Regions from separate parts of the Homo sapiens genome. Here region 1 is linked to region 2. The links are contacts of gene promoters, found by promoter capture Hi-C in human tissues and cell types (Jung and others, 2019). All regions are on one chromosome and are shown on one strand. Each heading gives the region's core, a stretch centred on a gene start or on the middle of the fragment in contact. The rest is flanking DNA. Distances are from core to core; before and after follow the strand shown. Region 1 overlaps SORCS3 (sortilin related VPS10 domain containing receptor 3). Region 2 holds the start of SORCS3 (sortilin related VPS10 domain containing receptor 3).

Evidence for each region. The method cuts DNA at HindIII sites, captures the fragments that hold promoters and counts their contacts. A contact is called where the count stands out against the background at its distance.
Region 1: a contact is called between a fragment that was not itself captured here and the fragment with the promoter of SORCS3 in region 2, in 1 of the 25 tissues and cell types used here (spleen).

The regions. Positions count from the first base shown.
Region 1 is chr10:104,773,992-104,780,074 of GRCh38, forward strand. All of the region lies in intron 1 of SORCS3 (sortilin related VPS10 domain containing receptor 3), which reads left to right. Among named protein-coding and RNA genes, the nearest start is that of SORCS3-AS1, 110 kb to the left of the region's middle. The HindIII fragment of the contact is 4,352 bases long and covers 2,331-6,083 here.
Region 2 is chr10:104,636,366-104,643,128 of GRCh38, forward strand. It overlaps SORCS3 (sortilin related VPS10 domain containing receptor 3), which reads left to right and starts at 4,925. Exons shown (of 27, transcript NM_014978.3): 1 at 4,925-5,589. The coding sequence starts at 4,963. The HindIII fragment of the contact is 5,425 bases long and covers 2,052-6,763 here.

The DNA of each region.
Region 1 (6,083 bases), core at 3,257-5,756, 140 kb after region 2:
GATTCTGCACCTATCCTCTGTTCCTTCTGGATTGTTTTTGAGTATTGTTTTAAATTTTACCTTAAAAAGTGTAATATTCTCTGTTGTGTTTAATTTCACAAGCCATCTCCCATCCTTTCTGGATGAAGATGGGATACATGCCTTCCTATAAAACATAAATTGTGCATATCCTGTTTACTTGCAGTCATCACCCCTGACTTCCTACCCCAAATCTCGCAGCTGTCAGTGGGACATCAGTCTTTACTTTTGCCTGAATGTTCTATCCCAGCCCTTCCCTGGGACAGCAGGAAGAGGGCTTTCCTCCTTCTAGAGGCTCTCTGAGATTCATGACTCAACTTTGCAAGGCCATGTTGTTAATCCCCATGCCTCAGAGGTATTCAGCTGCACCACAGCCCCTTCTTTCTCTGCAACCTGTGTCGACGCTGCCATTTCCCCGGGGGAAAGGGGAAGCAGTGTTGTCCCTTGCATGGTGTCTGCCATGTGTTGATTACTTAAGGATAATATTTCTGGCAGTGGAGAAAACGAGGTGGGAAATGGCTTTCGCGGGTGATTAATTGTTGAGATGACATGGCAGCTTCTGTCTGTGGCCATGACTCCCAATTACCTGACAAGAAAGATAGATTTGACCAGGAGTTCCTCTTCGAGCCTTGTTTCTGAGGGCTGCAGGTAGTGAGAAATAACACCCAGGACATTTAGAACTGGAATCTGAAAAGAAAAAGGGGTCATGGAGTGATCAGTGTGGAATCTGGCCCTGTCATTGATAAAACTTGACGTGCAAACTTGACCAAGTCATTTTCCATCTGCACCTTAGTTTACCTCTCTAGTGAAAGGATGGGCTTGAACTAGATGATTTCCAGAGTCCCTCTCAGCACTGAGATTCTGTGATTTTATGAACTTCACCAACGAGCTGAGACATTCCTATTTAGGCTTGTTTTATGTTCTAATTCCCAAGGACATATTTCTCATGGACTGTACTCCAGAGACTCTAATTATTTCTTGTTAGTCAAGAATAATTTTACCAAGCATCTGTAAGCTATGAGGAGCCTGGGATGTGTGTGTGTTCAGTTTTGGAGTGTTCTGGGAATTCAGTTTAACTCAAGCATTTATTGAGTGTTCACCCTTGGGATGAAATATGGTATGCAACATGGGATTTGCAGTTGGAAACCTGAGTTTCAGTCTGAGATTTGCTGTTAGTTAGCTTTGGCCTTGGGCACACAGCAATTTAAGTTCTCTGAGTGTTAGTTTCTTCACCTGTATTTTATAGGTGAAGGCACAGAGCCTCTTCATTGAGGAATAAATGAGAGAATGTTTGCAGAGCACACAGCACAGTGTTTGAAGCAAGTAAGTGCTCAGTAAGTGTTATTTCTTTTTCTACACTCCATGCCAAGTCTTTGTTAGGTGTTAGGAATGCAAAGATGTATATAAGTCAAGGGCTTCCTGCTTGCAAGACATCTGTTGACTTTAGGCACACAGACACCCAGTGATGATGATCAGTACTGGCAGTAAGAAAATGATGATTTGGTGCATAAGAGATGATATGTTCAGCTCACAGAGTACTGAACTAGAAAGCCAATGGCCAGTGTGCTCCTGTTGACAATCAGGACAGAAAAATACAGTGCAGCTGGGGCCGTTCTATAAAGACAGAATGACAGACTCCAGCACGGATTTGAGTTTGGGGATGGCATTTAGACAGTCCCTCTTGGCAGCACCATAGTTGAAATTCTCCAGACAGAACATCATTGGCATTTATGTTTCTAGAGCTGGACTCACACCATGGGGGTGGGATTCTAAAGCTTAGAAGAAACAGCCCTTGAAAGCCAGGGGTTTCTTGCTTTTCTGGAAGACAAAGCATGCTTACTTGAATAGCAAGAAGGTAGAAGCAGAGAGGCATAGCTACATCTGACCCCTGGCAAGTGCTTGATGATGTGAACTTTTCCCTCCTGCCCATATTTCTTTCCTATTCTTTTATTAAAGAGGCAGAAATTGAACACTTGTTGGTGTTGAGCACTAAGGGTCTAGAAGTGAATGAACCTGGTATTTGCCTCTGGAAGATTCCAGTGTGACTGGGGAGACAGACATGTAGGCAAGTATACTCAGCAAAGTATTATAGGTGCTAAGGACGCTGGGAGAGGGTACACTGGGCAGGGGGAGGGAGGTGAAAGGTACTAATATTCCACCTGGAGGTGAGGAACATGTGGTTGTATGAAGATATCTACAGAAAGAGTTTCTGTGGGTCCATGGTGGTCTGGGGAGGTTTTCTGGAAGAAGCAAGCTCTGAGCTATTTACTAACATCTCCCTTCAGGTCACAGAGCTATTCCCTAAAGCTCCCCAAGGTTGGGGAATTCTTATGTGTATTTTGAGTTCTTTCTGCTAGGCCAGCTCAAATGTTGCCAGACATTGCAAGGGTAGTCGGGGCTGGCGGGAAGCCCTCATCTAAAAGTCAATTACATTTGCCTTTGGAAAATGGGACAAGACATTTATGCTTAATATTTGGGTGTTTTTGTTGTTGGCTTTAAAAAATTTCTTTTTCAGGTCACACTCTGCTAGTGAAATACCATTAATTTCAAATGGAATTAAATGTCTGTTCTGTGTAGAGCACCCTTGCCAAATAATTACATCAAATATATAGTTTGCAAGGAAGATTGTCTATTTATCTTTTCTTAAAGGGCAGTCCAGAATCCAGACATACTGCATGGCCCCCTCCGAGAGCCACCCACAGCCTTTTCTTTAGTCTTTTACCCAAGATCGCTGTATCAGCTCATCCTTCTCCAAGAACCTGGGTCAGGAAAAATTGTAATACTCAGAGAACTTTTCTGTATTATCTTCACTAACGGTATCAGCTTTAATAAAAATACAAGTACCCAAGCTTATTCAGCAGCAGGGAAAAAAAAAAAAAAACCTCACAAAGCCCCTCATAGTTTTACTTTGTTATGTGATGACAGGCAGACAGGCAGAGAGAACAAAAAAGGTACATAAGGGGGAGATACAGTTGCTTCTAGAGTGAGGGAGATGGGGGTGGTGGGGGGTGGAGGCTTTGGGGGCATCCTACATGCCCAGGTCACAGTGGTACCTCTTGCGCTGCAGGTATCTGTGGCTATTCCCTCCTTCTGGGACCCCAGAATTAAGCATCCTTTTGGCCTCACCTTCTCATAGTTGGGAGAGTTGGCTGGAAAATAGTGAACCTGGAACTTGAGGTGACTCTGAAGATATTCCTGTTTAATGTCATCATTTTGCAAATAAGGAAACCGATACCCAGACAAGGGAAATTCAGACCCTGCTCACAGTTTACTGACAAGTGCATGAGTGAATGAGAACCTGGCTGTCCTCCGGGGGTAGCTGCACAGTTACACACTGAGCTGCAGGCAAGGGGGATGAGACCCCAACATGCTTAATTCCCAGGCTGTGCACTTCCCACTGCCCCATTCCAACCTGCTGTAGCTCAGTGAGGGGTGTGAGCAGAGCAAAGACTGGGACTGCAGCAGGCAATGCCTTTGCCCTCGCAACCTATTCTTTCCTACCTCCCATCTGGGTGGTTTTTCACCAGGGGCAAATTTTGCCTTGCAGGGGATATTCAGAAATGTCTGAAGACATTTGTCACAACTGGGGGGAGAGTGCTACTGGCATCTAGTGGTTAGAGGCCAGGGATGCTGCTGCACATCCTGCAATGCACAGGACAACCCTCACAACAAAGTTATCAGCCCCTAAATGCCAATAATGCTGCTGTTGCAAAACTGCCTGATTTTGTGTGTGAGTGTGTGTCGGGGGTAGTGTATTTGAAAGAGATTAGGGCTCAGTGGGACTGCAGTGAGGGTACTGATATCATTTTAAGGGTGATGGATTAGGTTCCTGTTTTACAAACTTGCCCACGCATTTGAGTTATACAGATAGCTTGTTAAAAAAGTATCAATTTTTACTGGGGTGAGATTATATCTCATAGAGGTAGAGAGTGAAATGGTGGTTACCAGAGACTGGGAAGGGCTAGGGGAGGGAGGGTTGAAGGTAAGCTCATTATTGAGTATGAAAATACAGTTAGATAGAAGGAATAAGATCTAGCATTTGTACAACAGGGAAATTATAGTTAACAGTAATATATGGTATATTTCAAAGTAGCTAGAAGAGAAGAATTGGAGTGTTGCCAACACAAAAGGACAAATGTCTTAGACGATGGATATCCCAATTACCCTGATTTGATCATTGTATACATGTATCAAGATGTCATATGTACCCTCAAAGTTTGTACAACCATTCTATACCAATTAACAAATTCTAGGCCCGGTTCCATACATGCATCTCCAGGGGTGGGCCTGGGAATTGGTATTGTTACTCTGCTTCAAAGGTGCTTCTGACATTGGGCCTATTTGGGGAAATAATGGATTCAGGTGCAGTGTTGGTTGAACATTTGTTATTTGCCTATTCAGATAAATCTGGATTTTAATGTCAGCTCTGTCATTTATCAACTGTGTGACCTTGGGCAAGTCACTTATTCTTCCAGCCTGCATTGTCTCATTCTCAAAGAGGAATGATCACATCCACTTCATGGTTTGCAGTGAGCATACAATGAGATAACATGCATCAAAGCACCAGCTCAGTTCCTGGTTGGCAGTAGGTGTTCATTCCTGTCAGATGAGTCTGGTAGTGTGTTAAGTTAACAATAATAATGAGACCCAACGGTCGTCAACCACTAATATCCCAGGCACCGTGTTAAATGCTTTTATAATATCTTTTCTCCTTAGCTTCACAGCAACCTTGTTTTATAGCTGGGGCATATTGTAGGTACTTGGCCTGTGGTAGGCTGAGTAATGCACATCTCCAGGCATTACTGGCCTTACAGATGTGGACCTGCAAAAGGTCCACATCTCCACTCCTGGAACCTGTGGATGTTACCCTATGTGGCAAAAGGGACTTCCTGTGGATGTTACCCTATGTGGCAAAAGGGACTTTGCATACATGATTAAGCCAAGGATCTTGAGGGGGGATCATTTTGGATTATCTGTGTGGGCCTGATCTAATCACAGGGTTCTTCATAAGGGGAGGCAAGTGATGAGAGGAGACAGAAGATTTAACAATGGAAGCCAGTCATTGGGTGGCACAAGGAAGGAATCATGAGTCAAGGAATGTCACCAGCCTCCAGAATTGAGAATAGGCAAAGAAAGGAATGCTTCCCTGGAGCCTCCAGACAGAGCCAGCCTTGCTGACATCTCGATGTTAGTTCTCTGCAAGACCCATTCTGGACTTTTGACTTCTAGAACTGGAAGAAAATAAGGTTGCGTTGTCTTTAAGCTCCATGCTGTGGTCTTTTGTTGTAGCAGCCGTAGGAAAGGAATACTCTTCCTCTGGCCTCATATCCAGAGATGCTGAGCTCTGTGCCAGGCATTGCAGAGTGACACAAGGAAGTTGGACACCTACCACCTGACTGATGAGAGGACACGTACACACAACTGAAAAAGGCCAGGGAATTTGCAGCAAGGAACAAATGAAAATATACGAGAGAAAATGTTGAGAGTAAGAAGATCTTCCACACCAGGACTTGCAGTGTGGACATCCAGGGGGACTCCACGGAGGAAGTGTGAAGGCTGCCGGCCCCTGAAGTATGCAGTTCATGCCTTGTAAAGACAGCTTGGTGCCCTGGAAACAATGACTTCTCTCCTGCCCAGTGATCCATTGGCCCCTTAGATGTTGATCCTGCACCTGGTCTCCTGCCCTCTCCTTTTCCACGTGGTGCAGTGGCTTCTGCTGCTGATCAACATATTCCCAGAGCTGCCTGTACCTCCCGGTGACTATGAGGATGGCAGGTGAGGGCCTCTTCATTCCCCATCTCCACTAACCACGCAAGTCTCTACTCTGCCCTGCCTCACCCCGCGCGCTCCGCCATGTTGATTGGTGAGGGCGGTGTATGTCAGTGCTGAGTAACGTGGTTATTAGAAGTATGAATTATTTAAGGAGACGTGCACATCATTAACCTGTCATTCATCCGAGGGAGGCTTGACATGTGAATTAGCCATGCACATTGCTATTTTGCTTATGGGGAGGGGAAGGGAGGTGGAAGGTGGGGCAGCGGGGCAGGAGTAGGGGTGACGGGTGG
Region 2 (6,763 bases), core at 3,675-6,174:
CTGCACTCCAGCGTGGGCGACAGAGCAAGACTCCATCTCAAAAAAAAAAAAAAAAAAAAAAGAAAAAGAAAAGAAATCGGCATCATTTGAATGCTTCCCTATCTGTGCCTGCTGTGAGTGCTGATGGCAAAATATCTATTAGATTATTGAGGGTCTGGAAGGGTAAGGGTGTGTGTGTGTGTGTGTGTGTGTGTGTGTGTGTGTATGTGTCTGTGTGTATTTGTGATGTCAGGGAGAAGAAGCACAGTTTCCCAAAGTGTTATTTCACTGTGATGGTAAAAAACAAGAAACAAAAAACAAAACAAAACAAAAAACCGGAAAGAAGACTTATTTGGGTGACATTTAGTGTAATCTCATGGATAACTTACAGTATACAGTTTGCTTTCTCCAGTTGTTTTTAACAGGGACAGAAGCCCTGGTGAGAAAATGCATTCCCAGTGGGCATTTGTTGCCGACCCTATGGGGACTGTGTGAGAGCTAATCCTCACTCTCAACCTGCCTTTCCCAGCTGAAGTAGGTATTATGTCAGCAAGGGAAATGGAAGCCCCCTTTAACCTTTGTCCTTTCTTTTAAATTCCAAATTGATATGGGACAGCTCCTATCTTATAGGAAGACAAAGAATTTGATGATGATGACATGATGATGGTAATAATAATGATATAATAACAAGTACTATGAGGCTGTGGAGGCAAGCTCCATGGAAGAGGATTCTTCCATGAAGAAGGGTTCTTACCATGAAGCCCCTTCCATGTTGAATACTGTGGCAGAGGACACATTCCAGGCTTAAGGAATACAGTAAGAAAGTTCATGGAGGTGGGGCAAGTACATGGAGCTTTGGATACCATTCTAAGAAGTTTGGATTTTATAAAAATGGTAGGTCATTGAAAAATTTTGAGGAGGGCAATTCATGATATAATCTTCCTTATGTTTTAAGAGGCTATTTCTGTCAACAGTGTGGAGCTGTGTTGTTTAAAACAGTAGCCACTAGTCACATGTGGTTATGAAATGTGGTAGTGAAAAAATGTGGGTGGTCTGAACGGAAATGTGCTGTAAGTATAAAATACACACTGGATTTTGAAGACTTGGTACAAAAATATGTAAAAATACATCAATAATTTTTATGTTGATTACAAATTGAAACTATTTTTGGTATCTTCAGTTCAATAAAAATTAAAGTTAATTTCATTGGTTCCTTTTTATTTCAATAAAGCTACTAGAAAGTTTAAAATTTCCTGTGTGGCTTACATTACATTTCTATTTGAAGGTGCCAGTGTGGAGGCTGGCTAGGAGAAGGAAAGAACCGAAGACCAGGAGAAGAGAGGAAACTATTGCAAAACCTTAGGCAAGAGATGTTGAGGGTCAGATATAAGGCAGTGACTCTAGGAATGAACAGGAGAGGAGTGGTAAAAAAAAAAAAAAAGGCTTTTTAAAATAGGACGAGACAAGTTATGGGTGTGGGGATCCAAAAGAGGGAGTCAAGCTTGCAAGTCAAGTGTCTAGTCTAGGTGACTAAGAAGATGTTGGGGTGATGGTTTTAGGTTTTGCTGCATATGGGTTTCAAGGTGAACACATAACACGTATGAAGCAATGAGGAAGTCAGGTGTGAAGCTCAAGAGGGGATGTGGTGAAGTTGTAGATCCAGGAGTCAACACCAGGAAATGGTAGTAGAAGGACAGAAATGGGCCTGATCTCCGGGCTCATTCAGACAAGGAGAAAGGGAAAACAGAATGAGAGCCAAGCACGGAGAATTGGGGAAAATGATGGAGGCTGGGGCTCAGAATTTAAGATGTGGATAAAAGAGGACAAGCTTGACTGAGGCTGGCCAGGGAGGACCCAGAAGATCCTAGTACCATGTAGATCAAAGGAGACCTTTTCAGATGGGACAAGTTTACACATGCGGGAAGAAGAGGTTGTTGAGTGAGGCTGTCAGGCGTGTTGGGGTAGGCCTTTGACTGAGTCGCCTAAAAGCAGATGTCAAATTGCAAAAAGTCCAGGAGTGAGGAAGAGGATACTGTGGGTTCAGGTGAGAACTACTGGGAGAAGTTTGGGCACTAGAGAAGGCTAATGGGGACTCGGAAGCAGGGGGTTGGAGGCAGGGGGCTGGGGGTGGGGGCAGGGGCAGCTCAGGGCTGAGGGCAAGGATTTTCAGGCAAAGGGTGAAGGAGGGAGAGGCTGCAGGTGGAAGAAGACTGTAATTGATGGGAGCAAGGCCAAGAAAACGAACTGGTGCAGGAGGCATGTGAAAATGTCACACTTGCGGGAGTCTTTCCTTTTTTGTTTGTTTTCAAACAAAAGCTTTTAAGCTACATCTCCTCAAGCCCATCCCAAGGATCCAACTCTGCCCGGGTTCCATCTGGTAGGGCCTTCTTCAGACAGGAGAGACAGAAGGAGGCCCCTCTCAGAGCGTCTGCCTCTTTTGCACCCGACTGCTCCTGCTCAGAGGCCGCGGGAAGCTGCGGGGACTGGATGGTGCACCTCCCCAGTGCGCATAGGACTTGGGAGACCACACTCCTCCGGGCTGTGTGAGCCTCGGGTCCGCCCAGATCTCTTATACTGTGGCACCTCCGCCCAGAGCCTGAAGAGAAGAGCAGCACCGCGTCCCTCCCGAACCCCGAGCTTCGGCTCGGGCTGCAGCGCCGGGCCTCCTCCGGCAGGGGCGCTGGGAACTCGCGGATGGCCGGCTCTCGTCCAGCGCCCGATCCCGCGCCCACCTGGGCCTGCGGCGCTGGAACTTTTCTTAGGAATACCCGCTACTCCCTGTCTTTGGAAACCCACAGATGCCAGGACCCGCACCATTCTGGGCCGGACGTTGTCGCTGGCTTGGTTCTTTGGCCCAGCCTCCCCCGCTGCTAATTGCCATTTTGGCACCGGGTGGAAAGGCAAGTTCAAGAGGGCGGGGGCTCTCGGGAATCGCTGGATGTCTTCTTCCTTGGCCAGCTTAGATTCTCAGTCGCCTCTTCTGCCTCCTCCATCCCTCTTGGCTCTTACCTGGCGCCCTTTCGCCTCCTCTTCTATCTCCCTCTTCCTTTTGCACCATTCTCTCGCCCCTTTTCTCCTTCATCTTGTCTTTCCTCTCTCCCCTTTTCCCTCTATTTTCTCCTTCATTCCTTCCTCTCACCTTTCTTTCCTCTCCGCGCATTCCCCTCCCTCTCGCTCCACTTTAACCATCTTCTAGAGAGGAGGAACTCTATCTACTCCCGAAGGGGAGGAGCAGGGCTGGAGGCTGTCTCTCTCTCCCTAAGCCTCCTCCCTCCTGCCTCCTCCTTTCTTAATAGCTCCTCCTCTAGCTCCTCTAGTCTCAGACTTTTCAACCCCTAGAATCCCAGGGGCTTCTCGGAGGCGGCGAGCTACACCACATGTCCTGGGGCCTGTAAACCGCAGCTCGAGGTCGTCTGTGGGTTTAGCTCATTTCCCTTCAGCCCACCTGAAGTCTCCTTCTTCCTACGGTCACGAAGGATCTCAGCTGCACCAAGCGCGCAGGCTACACTCCTGCAGTAGCGGATTGGGGACCAGATAAGCCCACGCGGCTCCCGCCTGAGTACCCTCTTAACTGGCGGCCGACACTTTGAAACAATTGAGTCCGTTCAGAAACGGACTGGGGAGAGTGAGGGCACGACCTCAAAATCCTAGGCAGCAAAATGAGGTCTGGATCCTCCCTGGAAGAACAGACATCTCGACTACTCTCTCGCCCCACCTCTGGCCGGGAGGTCGGGGCAAGGAGAATCCCTCAACCGAGAAGATCTGGCAAGTCCCCGATCCCACCGGGGCCTTCCGCCTCTTTTCCCTCATCCCCTAGGAGGCTTTATCAGGTTCTAACCGCTTGTAGTGGGGGCCGTGGGTGCTCGGGGCGCCAAGAGGAGGGGGCTGCCGAGAGCGGCCTGCCTAGTTCTCAGCATTGCCTCTTTGACCACTCGCAGGCTCCTGGAAATGCAAACACAGCCCGTGCGTGATCCGCACGCGACCAAAAGCCGAGCGCACACCTCCCGCCCCCGCCCCACTTGCCATCGCTCACACTAACGTGCACACATGCTCGTGCAAACGCGCACGCACGGAACCGCGCGCCCCCTCACACCCAGCCGCGCTCCCGGCCCGGCTCAGCCAGGTGCCCCCACGCGGCAGCGCCCGGTCTGCCCGCCGGCCCCCTGCGAACCCCTCGCCTCACGCCCGCCTGCCTGCGCGCACGCACGCGCACGCACGCATTCCCCACGCCCCCGCGCGGGGGCGCAGGCCTTGGGTGGCGGGGTTTGGCCGGGAGCCGGCCGGGCCAGGGAGCGGCGAGCAGAGTCCAGGGTGCATCCCGCGCTTGGCTTCCGTGCGCAGCCTCCCCGCGCGGAGGCACCTGGCTCCCTCTCGGCTCTAGAACGCGAACAGTTGGCGTTGAGCACACAACTCCTCCTCCTTCTCCCCCGAGACCCCTGTACCCTCCCCGCGCGCCATCTCCCGCCCCTCATAACAGGCCCGAAGAGTAAACCCCCAAACGCGTCCAGAAGCGGCTCCCAACTCTTCGCCGGGAGCACGTTGGAGGCTGGATTTCGGAGAGACTCGGGATTGGGGTCTATTGCCGGCCCCTCCTGGATCCGGCTTGATTTTCATATTTTAAGAAGATTTTCTTATTACCTTTGATTACTCCTTTTTACCAAATTTCTGGAGGAGCTCAGTGGGGAGGATTGGGGGGAATCTGATTTTAAGAAAGAAAGCACCGAAGGGGCAATTATTAATTTTCCTCGGGTTTGGAATCACCCTCTGGACAAGAGAACGGGCGAGCGGGAGCTAGGAGGGAAGAGTGGAGAGGACCGGCGAGGCGCGCCAGCCGGAGCCACCTCCTTCCCGGCCGCCCCCTCCCCACTCCCCCTACACACACACGCTCGCTCGCTCGCCGGCGCGCGCACACCCCCCGCGCCGGACCCGCACCTCGGCGGGCGCCACACACTCGGCAGCCCGAGCCGCGGTAGCCGCAGCGGGATGGAGGCGGCGCGCACGGAGCGCCCCGCAGGCAGGCCGGGGGCGCCGCTTGTCCGGACGGGGCTCCTACTCTTGTCGACGTGGGTCCTGGCCGGCGCCGAGATCACTTGGGACGCGACAGGCGGTCCCGGACGCCCGGCGGCCCCGGCTTCGCGGCCACCGGCGTTGTCTCCACTCTCGCCGCGGGCAGTGGCCAGCCAGTGGCCGGAGGAGCTGGCGTCGGCGCGGAGAGCCGCCGTGCTGGGGCGCCGGGCCGGACCAGAGCTGCTGCCCCAGCAGGGCGGCGGCAGAGGCGGTGAGATGCAGGTGGAAGCCGGAGGGACATCACCGGCAGGCGAGCGGCGGGGCCGGGGCATCCCAGCTCCTGCCAAGCTTGGCGGCGCGAGGAGGAGTCGCCGGGCGCAGCCCCCAATCACCCAGGAACGCGGGGACGCCTGGGCCACTGCTCCGGCCGATGGTTCCAGAGGAAGCCGTCCCCTTGCTAAGGGTTCCCGGGAGGAGGTGAAGGCGCCGCGGGCTGGGGGGTCGGCGGCTGAAGACCTCCGGCTGCCCAGCACCTCCTTCGCGCTGACCGGGGACTCGGCCCACAACCAAGCCATGGTGCACTGGTCGGGACACAACAGCAGCGTGAGTACCCACCCGGCGGCGGGTCCGCCTGTTTCCTGACACCGAAGGGGAATGGGGGGGTGGGTGGGAGCGAGGGACAGATAGTTGCTCGGGGGTCGAGGCGGGGGACGCCTCGACTTTTCGAGATAACAGGTTTGTCCGATTCCCCCCACGCCCCCAACAGGTTAACGGAGTTTGTTGTTAGACGCTGTGTGTGTTTGTTTACTGGAGACCCTAGGCTTCGGCCGCCGGGAGGGGAGTGGAGGAAGGGGCTTCTTAAAGATGAGTGGGGGAGGGATCTGTGCTCACTTTCTCCAATACTTGGCTTGGAGGGTCAGTTTTCCTGTTTGCGGGGTGCTTGAATTCTTGGATGAGAAAAAGGGCTGACTTGGGGCGGGAGCCGCTGAACAGACCGATTCCTGCGGCTGCCGGGCTCCCCCTACCCCCACCCCACCCCCACCCCCCCTCCCGTCACGCGAAAGGGAACCCGGAAGGCCATTCGGACTCCCAGCCTCCTGCTCGCCTCGGGGTCGCTGCTATCCGCTCCAGGCGCGCAGTCCTCCAGCCCAAGAGGGAGGCTCGGCCAAGTCGGCCCCCAGCCTTGGCCTTCAGGTAACCCCGGTTCCTCCTTCAAAGTCCAGGGAGCGGCCCTGGAAAGCCGTAGCAGAGGCCGTAAAAAAAAGTTTAAAGCGTGAAGCGAAATTCCACACCCATCCAGCGCTCATGCCACACCGCTCGCCCTCACGCACGCACAGGCACACGGAAGTCGCTCAGCAGAAAACTCTCGACTTCACCATTGCGTCCTGCGCCACAAACGGCTCCCTGAGCGGAGTTGGGTGCCTGAGCTTCCTGCACACCTCTCCACCCGCTTTTCCCCGCCACCGGGTTCTCCTGGACAAGGATGTACCGAGAGGTGGCGTCGTTGAGCCCGGTCTGGCCTACTCCGGCATTCCGAACTGGGCGCCCGACTGAGCATCGCGCCTGCCTGGCAGCTGCAGCGGCCCGCAGCGCGTGCCCGGAGGGGCTCCCCCTACCTCGCCGGCACCCAGCGCTGTGCAGCCAAGCAAAGAAAAGGCGGGGGACAGGTTCCCACCATCTCCCCGACTTCCCTCCCTCCCGCGGTCCCTACTAGAGCCAGATTTGGAAAATCCTTTCCTCTTCTCTGGCTCCATGGTTCAGATCAGAACCTGGCGTT